Linked DNA regions of Homo sapiens: regions 1, 2 and 3 are each linked to region 4. The links are contacts of gene promoters, found by promoter capture Hi-C in blood cells and fetal thymus (Javierre and others, 2016). All regions are on one chromosome and are shown on one strand. The core of a region is centred on a gene start or on the middle of the fragment in contact, and the rest is flanking DNA. Distances in the headings are between cores, read along the strand shown. Region 1 overlaps ENPEP (glutamyl aminopeptidase). Region 2 overlaps ENPEP (glutamyl aminopeptidase). Region 3 overlaps ENPEP (glutamyl aminopeptidase). Region 4 holds the start of ELOVL6 (ELOVL fatty acid elongase 6).

Evidence for each region. The method cuts DNA at HindIII sites, captures the fragments that hold promoters and counts their contacts. A CHiCAGO score of 5 or more calls a contact.
Region 1: a contact is called between a fragment that was not itself captured here and the fragment with the promoter of ELOVL6 in region 4, in 2 of 17 cell types (monocytes and total CD4 T cells). The highest score is 5.4, in monocytes.
Region 2: a contact is called between a fragment that was not itself captured here and the fragment with the promoter of ELOVL6 in region 4, in 5 of 17 cell types (M2 macrophages, megakaryocytes, M0 macrophages and 2 more). The highest score is 7.9, in M2 macrophages.
Region 3: a contact is called between a fragment that was not itself captured here and the fragment with the promoter of ELOVL6 in region 4, in 15 of 17 cell types (erythroblasts, megakaryocytes, total CD4 T cells and 12 more). The highest score is 13.8, in erythroblasts.

Annotation. Positions count from the first base shown.
Region 1 is chr4:110,531,902-110,535,235 of GRCh38, forward strand. All of the region lies in intron 11 of ENPEP (glutamyl aminopeptidase), which reads left to right. Among named protein-coding and RNA genes, the nearest start is that of ENPEP, 57 kb to the left of the region's middle. The HindIII fragment of the contact is 1,239 bases long and covers 1,334-2,572 here.
Region 2 is chr4:110,490,585-110,493,811 of GRCh38, forward strand. ENPEP (glutamyl aminopeptidase) reads left to right here. Exons shown (of 20, transcript NM_001977.4): 3 at 449-580. Among named protein-coding and RNA genes, the nearest start is that of ENPEP, 16 kb to the left of the region's middle. The HindIII fragment of the contact is 1,122 bases long and covers 1,084-2,205 here.
Region 3 is chr4:110,507,457-110,510,498 of GRCh38, forward strand. ENPEP (glutamyl aminopeptidase) reads left to right here. Exons shown (of 20, transcript NM_001977.4): 5 at 2,197-2,351; 6 at 2,789-2,902. Among named protein-coding and RNA genes, the nearest start is that of ENPEP, 33 kb to the left of the region's middle. RefSeq lists an enhancer at 55-224. The HindIII fragment of the contact is 3,342 bases long and covers 122-3,042 here.
Region 4 is chr4:110,196,982-110,200,001 of GRCh38, forward strand. ELOVL6 (ELOVL fatty acid elongase 6) reads right to left here and starts at 1,634. Exons shown (of 4, transcript NM_024090.3): 1 at 1,266-1,634. The coding sequence starts at 1,354. RefSeq lists a silencer at 1-300 and an enhancer at 1,215-2,007. The HindIII fragment of the contact is 10,784 bases long and covers 1-3,020 here.

The DNA of each region.
Region 1 (3,334 bases), core at 703-3,202, 340 kb after region 4:
CAAACCAGACTCATCTTTGCCCCATTTCATGAGGACTTGATTTAGAATAGTATTTGGTATGGACTTTCACTTGTGTCTTCTTGAAGATAAAAGTAGATCACTCATTCTTTATTTACATATGCCTAGTTGCTCATGTAAAATATTTTAAAATATTAATGAGGTATGATTTCTCCTGGCCAATAAATTTTTACTCTGTTTCCAGTAGATTGCCTTTTAAGAACAGCTTTACTGAGATATAATTCACATACCATAAAATTCACCTATTTAAAGTGTACAATCCAGTGTTTTTTAGTGTATTCACAGATGTGTAATCATCACCACAGTCAGTTTTAGAAACCCCATACCCTTTAGCTGTCATGCCTGCAGCCTCCCATATGCCCAGCCCTAAGCAACCACTAATGTATTCCCTACCTCTATAGATTTGTCTCTTCTGGTCATTTCACATAAATAAAAGTGTATATGCAGTATTTTGTGACTTTTCAATTAGCATAACGATTTCAAGGCTCATCCATGATATAGCATGTAACTCTACTTCATTCCTTTTTATTGCCAAATCATATCCCATTATATGGATATACCACCATTTGTTTATCCATTTATCAGTTGATAGATATTTGGATCATTTCCACCTTTTGTCTGTTATGAATAATGCTGCTATAAACATTTGTGTATAAGTTTTTCTGTGGATCCAGCATGTTTTTTCCACCTTTGGGCCTTTTAAAAAAAAACGTTTATTGTTAACAGTTTTTGTGATTTTTTTTTACTATTACTACAAACTACCAGCTTTGTCATTATAGAGGTGAAATCCTTCTGAAGCCCTTCTGCACAGGGATTGCTATTACAACAAAACTCTCTCTTGCTTATTTATGTTAATAATTATTGTAATATCGTGATCAAAAAAAATTCTAAATTTTTGCAGAATTCCCAGATCAATGCCACTTTGTTTTAGTATTTTATGCTGTGTTTCAATGCGAGGCTCTATCTTTTGTGGTCTTCTGACCATTTTCTTATTCATAAGTACACTTGCCAGAGGAAAAGGGAGAAGACAGAAAAAAAAAAGACATTTTCAACAATGTGTAACAGCACTGGTAAAAGACATAATAAGAACGTTAGAATTCCACTGGAAGGTTTTCAGTGGATTTGGTTTAACTATTACTAAATATTTTCCCCATTGGTCACCATAGTTAATTGAGGATTGGAAGAATATCTCGGCAGCTGTTTGATTTACTGTTTACAAGTTTGAAAGCGTGAATAATTCATCTACCCTAGTACAATTCACCCAGCACTTTCATGGAATGAAGTTTCCATACAAGTGAATTTTCCAGATAACTAAAGCTTACTCAAGTGCTTTGTAAAATGCATTTCAAGAGTTCACAATAGACATTGTTCTAATATGTGTTATGTACTCCTTAGAATATTTGGAATAATAAATTTAATCCTTAATTACTAGATTAATTCTTTCAAGCACGTATTGCTTATGTGCAAAACACAGAGATAAGAATGGGGGCAGTGCTGGAGCAAAAAAAAAAAAAAAAAGCAATCCTAACCCTTGTGTAGATGGTTGTCTAGGGATGGGTTTGCAGGCAGACATAATGCTGTGTCCTAAGTGCCTCTGTGGCAATGCAGATCACCAAAAGCACTCATAGAAGCATCAGCCCAGGTTTGGGGGTTCAGGAAGCATTCCTAAAAAATATCTAGGCTGAGAGTTCAGAGGCTAAGGATAGAGTATAAATGGGTGATAAAAATTGAATGTAGAGGAGACGTGTGCTCTGGACAGAAGCATGACTGTGAAAGTGAAAGAGCAGGGAGTTCTCACACTCCTTCGTATCCCTTTGTCAATACATTTCACACATTTTTTTGTTCTAACTATTGACCTATCTATGTCTCCCCTCCCCACAGAATATTCTTAGAGGAAATGGAGCTTATTTGTTATTGTTGTTCTGGATCTACAGCAGGCATCTAATAATTGTTTATTGAATAAATGAATGAATAAACAAATAAATGAAGAGGCTGATAGTTACAGAGCTTTGATGACAAATCTGCCTTTATCTGAAACTTCAGAATCATGTCTGGTCACTGAGCCAGAAGCAAACTAGAGGTCTTTTTCTACTTCAAAGTGTCTGCTCCATTTTTAGGCTGTACAATAAGTTCCTGTTTCCTGTTTAAGGACATCTTCAGCTCTCAGCTTAGAGCACGGATGACGAACATGTCCTGAGTGTACTAAATGGGCAACCAGCTCATGTTACCAGTCCTACCTCCCTCCTCTTGGTTTCTTTGATGATTCATTAGTTAGAAATTCTTCAGGCAATAGTGGGACTCTCCCCAAGGTCTTTTATTTACATTTCTATTGTATGTGCTATTTTAGGCGTTAAAACAACAACTAAACTCATAATTTCTAATGAAAGAAGAGAACCTCTATTATAAAACATTTTCTGGCTACTCCAGTTACCCTGAATAATCTCTCCTGTCATCATCTCCTGTCATAAAATATAGTATATTTTATCCTGTCACTTTCATCAGCCCTTATTCCTAGTATTATTACTTTATATTTTAAACAAAATCATTGTTATTAAGCTTCATATGTTCTCTCTTTTCGTTGTTTCTTTTTTTTTTTTTTTTTTTTGGGACAGAGTTTTGTTCTTGTTGCCCAGGCCGGAGTGCAGTGGAGCGATCTCAGCTCATTGCAACGTCCGCCCCCTGGGTTCAAGTGATTCTCCTGCCTCAGCCTCCCATGTAGCTGGGATTACAGGTGCCTGCCACCTCAGCTGGATATTTTTTTGTATTTTTAGTAAGGATGGGGTTTCACAATGTTGGCCAGGCTGGTCTTGAACTCCAGACCTCAGGTGATCTACCTGCCTCAGCCTCCCAAAGTGCTGGGATTATAGGCATGAGCCACCGCGCCTGGCCTCTCTTTTTTTTTTCTCAACTAAATTATAAGCTTCTTGATGACACAAACTACACATATTTCTTGTCTCCTGTCCACCCTATTATCAACAAGGTGCTACGTACATTCTGAGTTCAGAAAGTCCTAGTTTAATGAAGGGTTGTTTGCCCCAGAATGCTGTACTTTTAGAGGTTAACTGCATATATTTTAGTTATGTCTCCATCTTTTAGTATCAGCTGCTATTTTGGCTATTGTTAATGCATCCACATTTAGTAGCATACCACCTGTTTGCATTTAATTTACTGCTTTCTAACATTTAGAAGGATTGAAGGTTGTTATATGGTGTCAGGTAACCAATCTTGCTAAAACATAATATTTTAAAAGAGACATTTCTAAGTGCATAGGATCTGGGCTGGGTCTAAGTTCTAGGAGGTGGTGCGGACTCTACAA
Region 2 (3,227 bases), core at 395-2,894, 290 kb after region 4:
TTTGATGTAGACAACCAAAGACGGAAAAGAGAAGCCAATGTTCCGCTACACCAGGTACAGCAATTGCCCTACTGCCAGTCGAATCAGCAAATATCTGAGCACGAGTCTGTTTTTCATTAGGAGATTGCAGTACTCTGAAATATTATGGTCAGCATGATGTGTTTAGTGTAGACAGATAAACTCCTATTTAACTGATAGTCCACTCAAAATTTTATTTCTCCCTGAAAAACCTGATACAGTGTGTAATTCAGTCAGTCTTTAACAGTTCTAAAAACAAAGTAAATTTTCCTGTAGTCTTTTCAACATCACCACAAACAATTTGACCTCTAAGCTTTGACAAAGGACTTCTGGCTAGAAAGCAAGGTTTGGGGCAACCGTTTATTTGTTTGTCTTGCATATATATGATTGATATTTTGATCGATAAAAGTTTATCTTTTCTTTTCAATAGAAAGAAGAGTCAGTGGATGATAAATGGACTCGAACAACTTTTGAGAAGTCTGTCCCCATGAGCACGTACCTGGTGTGCTTTGCTGTACATCAATTTGACTCTGTAAAGAGAATATCAAATAGTGGAAAACCTGTGAGTCTCATTATATTTTAAAAATTTACCACCTATGCATTTGTAATTAATTATCTACCTTTTTTGGGTAGTTTTTTTTTTTTTTTTTCAAACAACATGCCTGAAAAGCCCTTTAGTCCCCAGGGTCTGTGGACTTGATAATACATAGAAAAATGTAGGCTGAAAGGATACAGGTAAAAAATAAACCAACACAACAGACATAGATATTTATGGCCTTAAATTATTTCAAGGGAAACATGTGCTGTAAGTCAAAAGCTAGCTCCTAAGTATACCAGCACAAATATATTAAAATGTTTGGGTATGCCCAATGTAATAAAATGTTTGGGTATATGTGTACCTCTCCCAGATATAGACTAGAGAGAGAGGAGGAAACCTGAGGTAAAGGAACATCCTTCGAATGACAAGGCACTGAAAAGTTTATGGCTCCATTCCTATATGTAATCAAAATAGGTAGCAACAAAGTATCCAAAAGCATTTTTTAAAAGTATGATAAAATATAAATAAGCTTTTTTTAAAAATATCAAGACGACTAGTTCAATAGTTTTCTTTCTTTCTTTTTTTTTTTTTTTTTTTTGAGACGGAGTCTGGCTCTGTCACCCAGGCTAGGGTGCAGTGACACGATCTCAGCTCACTGCAACCTCCACCTCCCGGGTTCAAGTGATTCTCTTGCCTCAGCCTCCTGAGTAGCTGGGACTACAGGCACCCGCCACCACGCCTGGCTAATTTTTGTATTTTTAGTAGAGACGGGGTTTCACCATATTGGCCAGCCTTGTCTCTAACTCCTGACCTCAGGTGACCCACTGGCCTTGGCCCCCTGAAGTGCTGGGATTACAGGCATGAGCCACCGAGCCTGGCCCAATCGTTTTCTTTTGAAGAACCACATACTTTTACCTAATTAATTTTTTCATTTTGGAGGCCCCCATTTTGCTTATATCCTGAACATATGTTTAGGTTGTCTAGTAAGCCAGTTAATTCACCTCTGTGCCATATATGTCATATATATAAAGCCTCATCATCTTTGCAATATAATTTTATAAGGAGGAAATCATCACCCCCATTTTAGAGATGAGAAAAATTGAAGTTTAATAAATTTAGGCTATTTATTCAAGATTACCCAGCTGGCAAGTGGTAGAAACTTAAATTCCAAACTCCTTCCAGATACTGTATCTTGCTTAGCCTTCTGATGTGTGATATTCTGAAAATATCTTTACCTCTTCATCAGTCACTGGAGGAGAGGGGATGGGTTCCTCTATTTCTGTGAAATGAACAAAGGGAAAATTTGCCTTTGCTTTGGTGTGGTAGGAGTTGATATTCAGATGTCCTCAACCTGGGTTGCCAGCATGCTGCCTATACCGTATACAAATTATAGCGAGTGGGGGATGTCCACAGACCTTTTCAAAGGGGCTGCATATCATGAGGACTCATCCGTATTCTAACTTTTCCTTGACACATAGGTTGCTTTGATGCAACCTTCAGTCGTGGTAAAGGGAACTACTAGTGGCTGATAGATAATACTGGTATGAAAAGGAAATGGCATCAGAAATAGGAAGTTGTTTTTTCTAGATTGTGCTGAGTGCAGTCGATGGCATTCCTCTTGCTTAATATAGAGGTGAGAACATTAGTCAAGCTTGGTTTTTTCTTTCCGTCTCATAACAAACATGCAATTTTCATCTGAAGCTGCTTTCTTCATCATTGACAATTCAATTGCATGACTGTCTTTCATCATGTGCAGGTGTTTCCCATACCAAGTTTTAAAAATTATTATTACATTCTGAGCAAATTTTTCTATTTGAGGTAGAAATACCAAGAGGAAACAGAAAGGCTAAGCAATTGTACTAAAGATGACAAAGTCTCATAGGTAAGAACAATGCATTTAACCAATCAGCAGAGGACATAGTACTTGGAGTTATTTTCTAATAGTGACAGTGAGCTTGAATTTCCAATATGACTCTATCACCAGGTCCTCTGACCAAGGACATTTACTTGTAATATTATACTAACTAGGTAAATCACTAGAGCCTGTACCAGTTAGTTAGCTGGGTTCTTAGGATGGATTTTATATAAAGGATTTGAAGTGATATAATGAAAAAATACAGTTTTGCAAAAGATCCCAAAATGTCCTGTAGGTGGTAATTATTTCTTAAATGGTTCTTCTATGAAAACTAAGAGCATAACATTTTGTTTTAAATAAGTGATGCATTCCATCATTTGGGAGGGAAACAAACATAATATTGTTTTAATACATTACTGTCCAATCATCTATTTTATAAGAGATCAACAGAAGCCAAATTCCCTTTTGAAACTTCTCAGAGGCTCTGAGCCAGAAAAATTACAAGAAAATGAGATATGCCACTTTCCCCTTCCTCCAACCCTTCCATAGAAGACAGGCAGCCAGAGTTTCCCCTCCTGAAAAAACAGTGGGGCCGTTTCCTTTAAAAGTTGAACAGAACCTAATGGGAGAAATTTAAGGCATCTAGTGTGAATGCAAATGCTCCACAGTGAGTTCCTCCTCTTTGGCATTTGGGAGGTTCCCCTCCTGGCTCCCTACCCACTTACTGTAAGTTGAAATCTAATAGTTGACACCCACCCAAGTACAAACTGCTCCTGGTATGATTTCCCACTCCAGAGAGTTACAGAAAAACCAACC
Region 3 (3,042 bases), core at 543-3,042, 310 kb after region 4:
AAAACAAATTAGCCAACAGTTGGCCTCCCTGTATCTGTTTCTGCCTTTACTTTAATAACTTATCAATGCACACAAGGGGAATGCAAAATTCTCTGCATGGGAATGGCTGTGGCTCAGAGCAAGCTTGTAGATGCTGCATGTCTCTTCAATGGATACAATTCTATTTTTTGATTGCTTAACAAATGTTAGAGAAGGAGCTGGAAAAAGAAACAAGTTTTCATCAAAATCAGAATATTGGGCCAGGTGCAGTGGCTCACGCCTGTAATCCCAACATTTTGGGAGGCCCAGGCGGGCGGATCGCTTGAGCCCAGAGGTTCAAGACCAGCCTGGCAACATGGTGAAACCCCATCGCTACAAGAAATACAAAAATTAGCCAGGTGTTGTGGCACACACCTGTAGTCTCAGCTACTCAGGAGGCTGAGGTGGGAGGATCACTTGAGCCCAGGAGGTTGAGGCTGCAGTGAGCCATGATTGTGTCACTGCAGTCTAGGTGACAGAAGACCTCATCTCAATTTAAAAATATCAGAATAATATTTAATAAAATATTGTACACATGAATTTAAAGATCCTTTGCCTTTTATCTCAGTTGTAGCACCCAGGATAACCTGAGAAGTGGAAATCTCACAAATTTATTACTCTCTTCTCCTCTCTTTCTTTCTCCCTCTCCCCAACTCCTTTATTCTGTTTTATGTGCATTTTCAACCCTCTCAGAATTAATTATATCTTAGACTCCTTAGAGGTGACTTCTGCATTTATTAGACTCCAAAGAGTTAAATATACAAGAATTAGTTAGTTACAATGCCAGTACTGACCAAAAAAAAAAAAAAAAAAATGAGATTGCAAAAAATTCCTTTTGTTCAAGGATTAAGTGCAAACTGCACTCCACAACATTATGAAAAATATTGGCCCTTGGGGGAGATACTTCTCTACTTTTGAAATGACTGTCTTGTGATAAAATAACCAAACCTAAAAATGAGATAACATGAAAAGGAAACTACTATTGTAATCTTGACCTCTACTTAAGATACATCCCTCTTCATTCTTTTATAAAAAGCTCTAAGAATATTTATTTTGGCTGGGTGCGGTGGCTCACGCCTGTAATCCCAGCACTTTGGGAGGCCGAGGCGGGTGGATCACGAGGTCAGGAGATGGAGACCATCCTGGCTAACACGGTGAATCCCCGTCTCTACTAAAAATTCAAAAAATTAGCCAGGCGCGGTGGCGGGCGCCTGTAGTCCCAGCTACTCAGGAGGCCGAGGCTGGAGAATGGCGTGAACCCAGGAGGCAGAGCTTGCAGTGAGCCGAGATCGCACCACTGCCCTCCAGTTTGGGCAACAGAGCGAGACTCTGTCTCAAAAAAAAAGAAAGAATATTTATTTTAACCAGAAAGAAAGGGCCTTCTCTTATATGTTAAGTGAAAAATCAATTTGTTTTCATTTCTGTGCCTCATTTAAATTATACATAATAATAAAGAAATTACATTCTGTTTACAGTTCATTAACTGGGGAAGCTGTATTTTGGCCACTAATCATCTGAGCATTTTCTGTCTTGGGATTTAACATAGAACTGATCAACACTGCCTCCTCCTGTCAGATATTATGTGTAAGACTATAGAAACTCCTGTCCAACATTTTAGAACTGTAAGGGAATCTAGAGAGAATATAGTCAACTCCATGTTTCTCCAACCAATTTAATACATAAAAGCGGATGATAAGCTATTAGATTGGTATTTCTATCAATATTTTATAGAATTAGAGAAAAATGGAGTTTTATATTCTTGAATAATCTGTGTCTTTGGATGGAAAACTGTATCTATACACTTGGAAGCTCAGAACTTCTAAATACTAATTTGAAAACTTCTCTTTTTCCTCACGGCTTATCCCCTAAAACACATGTAGCTAATAAAAATGAAATACAGAGAGAAACAAAAGACATAAAATTATAGAGGCATTGCCATTAGTGTCCTTCTTTAAAACAAAAACAAAGCATTGATATCTGGAGCCAGCAGGGAATGCTCTATGGAAACTTTGAGTGCATTAGGACTGAAATGTTCGCACACATGATTACAGTTCTTTACTCTAAGAAATTATTTTTAGGCTTTTAAAAAACATTCATCCAAATAACTTAATTTGGTAAGAAAAGCTATGAACAAATGGAAAGAATGTATTTCTCACTGGACTCTTTCTTCTTCTATAGATAAAATCGCTATTCCAGATTTTGGCACTGGTGCCATGGAGAACTGGGGACTCATCACGTACAGAGAAACGAACCTGCTTTATGACCCTAAGGAATCAGCCTCATCAAACCAACAGAGGGTGGCCACTGTGGTTGCCCATGAACTTGTGCATCAGGTACAGAATCTTAGCACTGAATCAGCTTGTTTTTTTAAAGTGGCTTAAGACCACAGGAATAATTCAAATTATTTATGACTTAGCAAATAAAAAATAGCCAACTCAGAAAAACTTGCATGAAAATCTTTCTTGGTACTAATAAACATTTAGCCATAAAGAGACTTTGAACCACATTGTTTTGCCTTTAGGAAATATGCACGAGGCCTTCATATAAATTTATGTACCCCAGTAATAACTAAATAAAGGCAATAAACTAAAGACAATTTAATATCATTTAAATAATCAGAATAAAGCAGGAAATAAATGTTAAGTACAATGCCTGCCACTTCTGTCACAGTGACAACATTGGCACGGACAAATAAATGTTTTGACATTTTCTAGGCCTCTCTACCATACCCATAAGAATGTAATTATCTCTTTATTGCTTATAATTTCAGTGGTTTGGAAATATTGTGACCATGGACTGGTGGGAAGACTTGTGGCTAAATGAAGGATTTGCTTCTTTCTTTGAGTTTCTGGGAGTAAACCATGCAGAAACAGACTGGCAAATGGTGAGTCCTAAACACATAAACTTGAAATCTCTCTTTTCCTCATGCAAAGCAGATGGAAGCCTTTGGACTATGATAATGGTCCCGAGTCAGATGGCAAGTACAGTGGTGAGCGGGGAATTCCACTGTGAGGATAGGGTGGA
Region 4 (3,020 bases), core at 384-2,883:
GGCCCCGTGGCACCAGCTCCTACTGCACCAACCCGCCCAGGCCACAGGCGCGCCGGCGTTTCTGGTTTCCAGTTGAAGAGGGCAGGCGGGAGGGCGCGGGGCACGCGCGCTCGCGCACGCGGCGGGCGGAATCCCCCGGCTCCCGGGAGACCCTGCGGCCCGACCCTCCCCGGTCAAGCCATCCCCCGGGCTGCCGGCCCCTTGCCTAGCTCCGGGGTGCGTTGGGCTTGAACTTTACAGATCGCCAGACCCGAAGTTAAGGGGAGGAGAGGAATGCCTCTGCCACAACCCTGTCTACAAGAAGCGAGATGAGCACACCCTCCTCTGTTAAATATTGCAAGGTGACACTGGATCGCCTCCCACACAGGGATTTTCAAAAGGTCTGGCGGGGGGACTACAGTAAACAAGAAAGGTGTTTTCCCTGATTATTAGTTTCCTAGGGAAGAGCCCCTAAGGACTCTGCAGACGGAGGGGCTTTTAATCTGTGTGCCTGAACTCCAATCAGCAGCTACGCACAGAATTAGAAGTGTGTCCAAAAGGCGTTTCCGTAAAACAGAAACTTAATAATGGCGTGGCTCCACTCGCTCGGGTTCATTCATTTATTACTGTTTTCATTGTCCCCTCCTCCCTCCCACCCGGTCTCTCTATGAAACCGGAAAGGGAACCGCGTGGGGAAAGGGGTACTAAAAAGGGGGCATCCGCCTGAGGAGCGGCAGACAGAGGAGGACGGTGAAGTAGGAGCGCTGCAAGGAGAAAGGAAGGACACGAGGGATGGAGAGACAGCGAGGACCAGGGCCAAGGGCGGCGGGCGGGAGAGGGTTAAAGGCAACAGGAGACAAGGTCCTCCCTCCACTGCCTTTCACACTCCGGTTGCGGGAGAGGCCAAGCGAGAAAACCCAAATCTAGATGAAAACCGGGGGAGGGGAGGGGAGCACAGGTAGGCGATCTGGACTGTGGCATCTCTCCCGCCTTCCCTGTCGCGCAGACATCACCCTGTGCACACACATATGTTCTGTGTTATATAATCTATATAAAAGATGCCTATGTAGCCGCGGTTCACACAGGGGCACCCACAGACCTCGCGCTTCATGTACCCCCCCCCCCCCAGCGTCTCCTGCACCCGGGAGACCCGAGAACTCAGCGATCAGCTGGCTGCCCGCGATTCATCGCTCCATTCACGCCCAGGCAGGGAATACCGACATTAAGGCACTCCGGGAAGACGCGCAGGGCTCCCGGGAACAGTATCAGGCGAAAGCATCACGTACCAGTTTTCCTGCATCCATTGGATGGCTTCATTCTCGTTGAACTGCTTTTCGAATTCATATTCTTGTAAAGTCAACACTGACATGTTCATTGGGGCTGATCTTCGGAGTCGCTACGTGTTCTCTATACAAAATAAAATAATCTGTAAAGCGCTTGATTTCGAGTGTTCTCCTGTCTGCTTCCCCCACCCACCCCCCTAGGTCTTCCCCACGCCGCTCGGTCTCCAGCGGTCGTCTCTTCTCCCAGCCTCTCAGCTACATCCAGGGCTGAGCATTGCCTGCGCCTCCGCTCCCAGCTCCTCTCTCTGGGGCTCTCCTCCTCCCGGCGTCCGCATCCACCGTAGGAGGAAATGAATGCCTTGCGGTCTTAGTGCCCGCACGTTTGTCCATCACCCTTTTTACTCGTCTACAGGGAAATCTCCTCCCCCTCGTGCGATTTGAGAAATTAACCCTTGGCGAGGGAGTGTGCGAAAGAGCGCGACCTCTCTCCGCCCGGGGGGGACAGTTTTGTTTACAGCGAAGGTGGTTGGAAGAGTGGGGGAAGGGCGCAGAGAGAAAGGAAGTGGCCTGGAGGTCATCCAGATCCCCTAAGCCCAACCTCGTGGGCCGCCTTGCTTTGAATGAAGTTTCAGCTTGCAGGGCGCATCCCCGCGGCGCGTGGACCCGAGAGCTTGGCGAGTAAACGATTGGGAAATAGTAAAACCTGCCAGCTCTCTTGCAAGAGAACTCCGGGCAAATCTACGTTGAGATCACCAGTGAAGGGAATACGCTTCCCACCTCCTCGCCCTACCTCTGGGACCACCCCCACCCCTACCCCCACCCCCACCCGGGAGCTCTGGCTTAGATTCACGCTAACCCAGGCCCTGCGGACGGCAGAGCTCCTTAATCTCGTACAGACAGGGGATGCTGAGTGTGAGGATAGTGGATAGGCGAGAGAGGCTAGTAGCCGGAAGTGGAAGAAAGGGCTGGGTTAGGTGGAGGGTTTAGGTACCGGGAAGGGGGGGATTAATGAACAGAGGCAGAGTGGGGAAGGAAGCTGACAGGAGAACTGGACCGACTGGCCAAATGCAAAAACTTTATTTGCATGCATGAGAAATTTGGCTTTACTTGCTGTACTTGTAGGTAGAACAGAATATGTGAGGAGAGGGCTGAATGTACTGTTGACCCCTACTGGGCCCTCAGCCTCCAAGAGGAAAAACTATTTTCTATTCCATCCATCCCTCCACTCATTTCCCCCAAGAGTTTGGAAAAATGAAATATGAGACATGGAAGTATCTAATGATGTAATTGTAAACTTTACAAAATAATAAGGAGCCCTGCTTTTAAAAATTAGGTGGATATTAGGACCAGAAAGAAAATTCCCCTTCTGAGAACATCCCCCCACCTCCCCAGTAGTCCAAAAAGGGTACTTTCATTCAATTTAGATGCCTCTAACCCACAAAAAGTGGGAACTGGGAGAAAAATTTTTAAAGGAGGAAGGGACCGGCCGCGGTGGTGGCTCACAGAAGTAATCCCAGCACTTTGGGAGGCCGAGGTGGGCGGATCACCTGAGGTCAGGAGTTCAAAACAGCCTGGCCAACATGGTGAAACTCCGTCTCTACTAAAAATATAAAAATCAGGCAGGCGTGGTGGCGGGCACCTGTAACCTCAGCTACTCAGGAGGCTGAGGCAGGAGAATCGCTTGAACCCGTGAGGTAGAGGTTGCAGTGAGCCAAAATTCTGCCACTGCACTCCAGCCTGGGCGACAGAGGGAGACTC